Linked DNA regions of Homo sapiens: region 2 is linked to region 1. The links are contacts of gene promoters, found by promoter capture Hi-C in human tissues and cell types (Jung and others, 2019). All regions are on one chromosome and are shown on one strand. The core of a region is centred on a gene start or on the middle of the fragment in contact, and the rest is flanking DNA. Distances in the headings are between cores, read along the strand shown.

What was found. Contacts are between HindIII fragments. The study calls those that stand out against the background at their distance.
Region 2: a fragment that was not itself captured here is called in contact with the fragment with the promoter of DMAP1 in region 1 in 1 of the 25 tissues and cell types used here (bladder).

The regions. Positions count from the first base shown.
Region 1 is chr1:44,211,454-44,215,415 of GRCh38, reverse strand. It overlaps DMAP1 (DNA methyltransferase 1 associated protein 1), which reads right to left and starts at 1,945. Exons shown (of 10, transcript NM_019100.5): 1 at 1,558-1,945; 2 at 975-1,066; 3 at 518-713. The coding sequence starts at 1,662. RefSeq lists enhancers at 100-599, 600-1,101, 1,867-2,106, 1,845-2,139 and a silencer at 2,537-2,636. The HindIII fragment of the contact is 10,626 bases long and covers 1-3,962 here.
Region 2 is chr1:44,479,279-44,483,240 of GRCh38, reverse strand. All of the region lies in intron 2 of RNF220 (ring finger protein 220), which reads right to left. Among named protein-coding and RNA genes, the nearest start is that of MIR5584, 64 kb to the left of the region's middle. The HindIII fragment of the contact is 6,321 bases long and covers 1-3,962 here.

The DNA of each region.
Region 1 (3,962 bases), core at 696-3,195:
TGGGCAACTGGGTGGAAGATAGTGCCATTCACTGAGATGGGGAACAGATTTGGGACTGACAGAGGGAAGATGATGAGCTCTGTTCAGGGTACCTACCTGATGTAAGGTACCTGTGGGGCATTGAGAAAGAGATATTAGTAAATGACTGGATGCGAAGGAAGCACTGCTCTGGATTGGTGACTTGTAGAGAGGGTAACTGAAGCCACAGGGTTCATACTAAGAAAGTAGAGAACAAGAAGACTAGAGCACCTAGGATACAGCTCTGAGGAACAGCAACATTTGAAAGACCAAGAAAAGCCATGAAAAACCAGAGCAGGTCCGGGAAAGAACAGGATCCCTTGGGCAGAAAAGACCCACAGAGTCCTACTCTGCATGCATTTGCCACGAGGATTGAGTGGGTAATCACAGTTGGGCATAAGCGTGCCCCCAGAACCAACCCTAGGAGACTGGAGAGCTCGCACAAATGGCTCAAAGTGGGAGGGCAATCTTGGCCTGTGTCCGAATGAAGGTAGCTTACCTTATTGAACCTGGCAAAGGGGTAGTCCTTGCCCTCCTCCGCTGCACGTCGCCAGTGGAAGAACATTGCTCCGTCCTTGCGGGCCGGGTTGGTGAATGGCATCCACTTCCAAGGCCGCACCTTCTTGGAGCCCAACTTGGCCTTCACTGTACGGTATCCCTGGCCAGTGTCACTGGGTAGCAGTGGGGGTGCATCCCTGGCAGGGAGGTTTAGGGAGATGCGAGGTTAGAATCAGAAGGTGTGTTAAAGAGCTTTTTGTCCCAGGGAGCTGATCTACCCTACCCTATAGCAAGAAAGTCATGTCCTGGAGCAAAAGACTTCAGGTCCTCCTGCATCCTGCTAAGCAAGCAGGAGCCCTTGCTGGGGAGGAGAAAATTGTTAGAGAAAACTAGGAGTTAGGGGCATGGCAGGTGAATCAGGGGCCAAAACCTGGGGGACTTGGGACTCCAATACTTGCTTCTTGTCAGAGTAGAGCAAGGCATAGACTTCCCGGTGCATGCCCTCGGGCCTCTTGAAAGTCAGTGTCTCAGAGGACTTCTTGGATTTTTTCTGAGGAAGGAAACCACAGAAAGGAACCACAACCTAGACCCTTTCCTGAAAATTCTTTAGTCCAGCTCAATCCCTGAACAAAGCAGCACCTACAGGGTCAATGACAGGCAAACTGACACACTGTAAAGGCACAGAAACCCACTCCCAGGAACACCATCCTACGCCCAAATCAGAGCAGTCCCCTCCCCATCCCACCAACTCTCAGACTGTTACAATGTCTTGATCTCTCCCCAACAATATCTTGCAAAAATCACACTTGCCTGGTCCTCTCAGCTCTTAGAGGTGTCATACCCTCTTGGTCCCACCATCTCCCACGATGTCCCATCTCCTCCCTCCCATCAAGGATGACACATATTCCCTGTCCTGTTATGTCACCCCTTTTATCGCCCAACTCACTGTAAGTGTAGCACCCATCCCTTGCCCGTTGTCACTCCTCCCCATCTTCACTCCCCTACCCTCCCCTAGTCAACGCTTTCAGGTGCCCCTGCTACCTTGTCCGGGTTGATAATGTCCTTCTTGCTGATGGTCCCAGAGGCTGCATCCCCTTCTGGACCCCCGAGTTCTAGAATGTCCCGTACATCCGCGCCCGTAGCCATCGCGCCTGAGAGATGGGGGAGCCACCGGAGGTCAAGGGTCAGTGCCTGAAGAAGGACCAGGCTCAGGTCAGGGGGCGGGGCCAATCCAGACCTAAGCGGAGGCGAGTTGAAGGGGCGGGCCAAGAGGAGAAGGGTGGTCCAGGTCAGGTCGGGGATCTGCCTGTGCCCCACCGCTTGGATGTTCCTAACGGCCCCTTCAGCCACCTGGGCCCTCGCACTTCCGCACCTGGGTCCGGCAGCTGCAGCCCCCACTACCACTCCCCCGTCCCCGCAAAGCCGCGGCAGAAACTTCCGGCGGTGCTCATTCGGAACGCGGCCGACAGAAACACTTCCGGTCGGTGTTGTAGGAAACGAAGCCGACTGGCAACCGAGGGTGAAAGCTACTGGCCGTGCTGAGCTTGCCACCCTTTGGTTCTCCCGCGAGCCTGTTTTCATTGGTGCACTGCCTGCTTTCTGGCATTTTCCCTCTACGATGCTCCGTTGCGTCTCAGGCAGTGAAGAGATACCAGAACTTTGTGACTTTGGGAAGTCACTTAATTTCTCTGGACCTTTTTCTTTATTTGCCGAATGGAAATTGTAATGGCACCTGTGTAAATGAAATACCAAGAATCCTTGTAAAACATTAGCACGGTGCGTGGGACATTTACTATTTTTTTATTAAATGAGTTAATGATTTGAATTGCCCCCTCTTCATTAAGTGCTAATATGTACTAGGCACTGTGCTAAGCTTGGAGGTGAAGAGATAAACTTCAAATTGTGATAAGCTTGAAGATGAAGAAATAAAGGCAGAGCTTCCTAGGGCGGCTGCCAAAATGGAGTAAGGTGTGGGCCCTCATTTGCACCTCCTCTGATGGAGATAGCTGTGGGTTGTGGCCTCGTGGGGATTTCCTGGAGGCCAGCTTCGTGGCACTTCACTAGTACAGGAGCTAGCTGCACTCTTTGGGCTACGAAGAAGCCCAAAACACAGCCCCAAGCAGGAACCAGCTTAGAAGTATCCCTCAAGGGAATAAACCTGGGGATCTTCCTGGAAAGAGAGAGACAGGAGGTCCTGAGGAAGGGCACAAGGGACAAGGAAAGCAGCTCCCAGCTTCAGCAGTCTGCAAACCAGCCTGTCAATTTGAAGGACACATAGCCTGTGGGATAGGGTGGGGCTTGTTAAGGCATTAAGAAGGCCAGACCCCAAGTCGAGACCTGCCAAAGATACCAGCAGGGACTAGAGGAGCAGACAGTTTGCGCAAGTTAGCTATAAGTGGTGTAGCCTGTTCTGGCCTGGAGAAGACAAGGGGATACAACAGCTGTAGCCACAAGCCTGACTAGTCCCCAAAACTTTGGAGAACTAGGCCTGGAGGTACAAACCTGTTCCTGGGTCTGATTCCTGGATGGATCCACTGAGCTCCAAACAGTTGCCGGAGGAAGTCACAGTCTTACAGCAGAAATTGTCCACAGGGTAAGGAAATGGTCCTTGGAGCCAGAAAGGGAGAGAGCAATTGGCTGCCTGAAACACTTGACCCTAGTTGTAGTTAATTAATTGTGTAATTACTTGTTTAATATATATCTCTAATAGACTCATTTCTGTGAAGACAGGGATCACAGTACATAAAGGAATGTATGTGCCAGGCACTATTCTAGACTCTGGGCATGCAGTGGGTGAACGAGATACAAATAGCTACTGGTGGAGCTTATATTTAGTGGAGAAGGAGAAACACTAAGGAAATAGACAATAAAATTGATAATGTAAGTTTTGATGGTAACAAGAGCTAGGAAGGAAATGAAATAGAGCGATGGGATGGAGAACTGCTTTCCATAATCTGGTCAGGGAAAGTTAGTGGTCTCTCTTTTTTTTATAAATGTGTATATACATAGAAAAAATTCTGGAAAGGACTAAACTGAAATGATTCCATCACTTGTTTTTATCTGGCAATTTATATTTTCTATACTTTCTATAATGAATGTGTACCTCTTCTATAATAAAAGGAAGGAATGAAGGGAAGAAGGAAAGGAAGAAGGAAAGACAGGCAGACTGTGCGCTGTGGAAGGTGGACCAGGCCAGAGTTTAGGAGACTAGAGGGCAGTTGTGACTATCTAGGTTAGAGGTGTTGGGAAACTGAACTAAGGTTGTAGCAGTGGCAATGGATTCCAGATATTTAGAGAAAGATGACCATGTTATCTGCAAATAATGACAAGTTTATCCCCTCCTTTCAATTTATACCCCTTATTTCTTTTTCTTTTAGCATTTTCCAGTACCTCCAGTAATTGGTTAAACAGCAGGTGTGGTCGTGGGCATCCTTGTCTTTTTCCAG
Region 2 (3,962 bases), core at 721-3,220, 270 kb before region 1:
ACTATGCTTGGGCTGGGCATGGTAGTTCATGCCTGCAATCCTGGCGCTTTGGGAGGCTAAGTCGGGAGGATGGCTTGAACCCAGGAGTTTGAGACCAGCCTGGGCAACAAAGCAAGACCCTGTCTCTACAAAACATAGAAAAAGTAGCCAGGCGCGATGGTGTGCACCTGTAATTCTAGCTATTCCAGAGGCTAAGGCAGGAGGACTGCCTGAATCCCGGAGTTTGAGGCTGCAGTAAGCCACGATCGTTCCACTGCGCTCCAGCCTGGGCTACAGAGCAATATCCCATCTGGACAAAAAAAAAAAAAAAAAAAAAAAAAGGCTGGGTGTGGTGGCTCACTCTTACAATCCCAGCACTTTGGAAGGCCGAGGCAGGTAGATCACTTGAGGTCAGGAGTTTGAGACCATCCTGGCCAACATAGTGAAACCCTGTCTCTATTAAAATACAAAAATTAGCCAGGCATTGTGGCACATGCCTGTAATCCCAGCTACACAGGAGGCTGAGGCACGAGAATCACTGGAATCTGAGAGGCAGAGGTTGCAGTGAGCTGAGATTGTGCCACGGCACTCCAGACTGGGTGACAGAGCAAGACTCTGTCTAAAAAAAAAAAAATTTACTGAATTACCCTAGACTATGCCAAGGATAAATGTGAAGAATCCTATTTCAGATCCCCTAGAACTCAAATGCCTCATGACAACCAGAGCATAGCTCCTTTCTTCCTACAGAAAGATTTCTAGCTCCACTGAAGCTATTCATTGCTCACTGAGAGAAGGAACACAAAAATTCTTTGAAAAATATGCAGTATCTAAAAGGTGAACGGACTGGAGTTAGTATCAGTCTTCTCTCCCCACTTCCTTCAAATGTCTTCACCACAGCAACTGCCCTCCACCCCTCCTGCTCCCCTGAGAAGGGAGCCCCAGGGATCCAGACTAGACCAGGTCTGGTCTGCAGGCCGTGTATTCTTAGTTTTGTCTCATTTTTTGAACATTATTTCTCTATGGAAAAATGAATCTGTTTGGAATAGAAATCAAATATGGGTTCATGGTCAGATGGATGGGGTTTGAATCCCAGTTCTGCTACTTGTAAGTTGAGAAACTTTAGGAAAATTAACCTTTTAAGCTTCTGTTTTCTTGTCTGTAAAATGGGAATGAAATAAAACCAAAATCAAGGGGCCCAAGTACTGCATGCAGAACTTCTGGTGCAATGCCTGACACAGAGCAGGCACCCAGGAAAAGCGGGTGCTCATTGTTTTGGCTTCTTATCTCTGAATTAACTTCATCTGCTCCTTGTTCTCTCCTGTTACAACTGAGAGAATGACCCTCTTACGACTGAAGTCTAATCCCTCACAAGTGGTCTGGATTCCATCCCTTCTTGTCTTTTAAACTGCTTCATCATCTCTGTTTCTTGACTGTCAGTCTTTTTCTTTGCCTGGATCACTTCCACCAGCACACACACACATGCACTGCTATCTTCTCTCAAGAACAAAAAAGTTCTCTCTCTTGATTCCACATCCTCTCCACTTGCCATCATATTTTTCTGCTCTTCTTTTTTTCCCCCTTTATTTCTTCTAAAGAAAAACAAACCAAAGAAAAGGGATACATGTACAGAACGTGCAGGTTTGTTCCATAGGTGTATGTGTGCCATGGTGGTTTCTGCTCCTATTGACCCATCCTCTAAGTACCCCCCGCTCAACCTCCAGCTCCCAACAGGCCCTGTGTGCGTGTTGTTCCCTTCTCTGGGTCTATGTGTTCTCATTGTTCAACTCTCAGTTATGAGTAAGAACATGCGGTGTTTGGTTTTCTGTTCTTGTGTTAGTTTGCTGAGGATGATGGCCAACCCAGGATGGAGTGCAGCAGGGCGATCACAGCTCACTGCAGCCTCGAATTCCTGAGCTCAAGTGATTCCCCCTGCCTCAGCCTCCCAAGTAGCTGGGACTACAGGTGCACGTCATCAAACCCAGCTAATTTTTAAAATTCTTTTGCAGAGATGGAGTCTCACTATGTTTCCCAACCTGGTCTTGAACTCCCGGGCTCATGCAATCCTCCCACCTCAGCCTCTCAACGTGCTGGGATTACAGGCGTATGCCACCACGCTCAGTCTTCTGCTCTTCTTTATCCCCAGACACCTCCAAGGTGTTGTCTACATCTGCTGCATACATTTTCTCACCCCCTATTAGCTCTTCAATTCATGTCAACTTGAATTTGCCCTGTCATTCCACTAAACTGTTCTCAAAGTGACCTATTGCCCTCCATATTGCCAAATCCTGAAGACATGTACATCTCTGTCCTTGATCTCCCAGGAGCATTTGACGTAACTCATCATTTTCTATTTTATTTTATTTTACTTTATTTTTTGAGACGGAGTCTCACTCTGTTGCCCAGGCTGGAGTGCAGTGTTACAATCTCAGCTCACTGCAACCTCTGCCTCCCACGTTCCAGCAATTTTTCTGCTTTAGCCTCCCAAGTAGCTGGGACTGCAGGCGTGCCCCACCATGCCCAGCTAATTTTTGTATTTTTAATAGAGACAGGGTTTCACCATGTTGGCCAGGCTGGTCTTGAACTCCTGACCTCAAGTGATCCCAAAGTGTTGGGATTACAGGCGTGAGCCACTGCCCCCGGCCCATTTTCTCTTTTAAAACACTCCTTTTTCCTCCTTGGTTTTATGATCTCTATTGTCCATTCCTTCTCAGACTCCTTTCTTCTTTTCCTCTACCACATCTTTAAATGTTAGAGTTATCCAGGGCTTGGGTCTGTGCCCTTTTATTTTCTCTCTTTTACACCATTCATTTTCATTTCATCTTTTGCAATCACTTAATTAATTAATTAATTAATTTTTGAGACAGAGTCACTTTGTTGCCCAGGCTGGAGTGTAGTGGCACGATCAGGGCTCACCACAGCCTTTACGTCCCAGGCTCAAGCGTTCCTTCCACCTCAGCCCCCTGAGTAGCTGGGACTACAGGCATGCACCATCACACCTGGCTGATTTTTTTTGTATTATTAGTAGAAATGGCATATCACCATGTTGGCCAGGCTGGTCTCAAACTCCTGGACTCAAGTGATCCACTTGCCTTGGCCTCCCAAAGTGCTGGGAGTAGATGTGAGCCACTGTGCCCTGCCTTTGCAGTCATTTTAAATAGCAAGGTGCTGTTATAACTAGAACAACAAAACACAAAGATATGTGACATTGGCTTTGGGACTAGGCAAGTGGGCAGCAAGGAAGCTGGTATAAAAGCCGGGAATAATAGCAACTTGTATTATTTAGTGGTAAACTTGTGACTAAACTACAATAATTTGGAAGGCAGGAAACGTATCTTATAAACTAGCAAAGGTGAAGGAGGGGATCTTAAGGCAAAACATTGCAAGCATGAGCTGGCTGCTTTTAGCTGTATTTGATGAAGCACTAACAAGAAAGTGATAAACTCAGAAAACTGGCTAGTTTGCAAGCAGGATTCAGTGGGAATATAGAGAACCCAGAATTTGTGGGGTTGAAAAATAAAACTTTCTCATCTCCAATCTCTCTAGTAAGAGATTTTCAAATTAAGATCCATCCTGGGGCTAAAGACCTAATCCAGAGTGCGGCAAGAACGATACTGTTTCCAGGTGAAGTCAAAATCAAGAGTATTAAGCTCTGAAGGAAATCAGATGGCATCTAATAGGCTCTTGCAGCTGAAAATGAAGCTTGTAGAAAACTTAAGAGCAAGGTTCTACAGCAGCCTGACATTCCCAGTACTTAAGTCTCGGTAGATTCTGTCTTGTAAAAATTGTGGGTGTGGCTTGTGGTACATAGAGTTGATGAGTATAAAACACATAAAAATCCACAAAGTTGGCCGAGCGCGGTGGCTCACACCTGTAATCCCAGCACTTTGGGAGGCTGAGGTGGGCGGATCACGAGGTCAGGAGATCGAGACCATCCTGGCTAGCACGGTGAAACCCTGTCTCTACTAAAAATATAAAAAATTAGT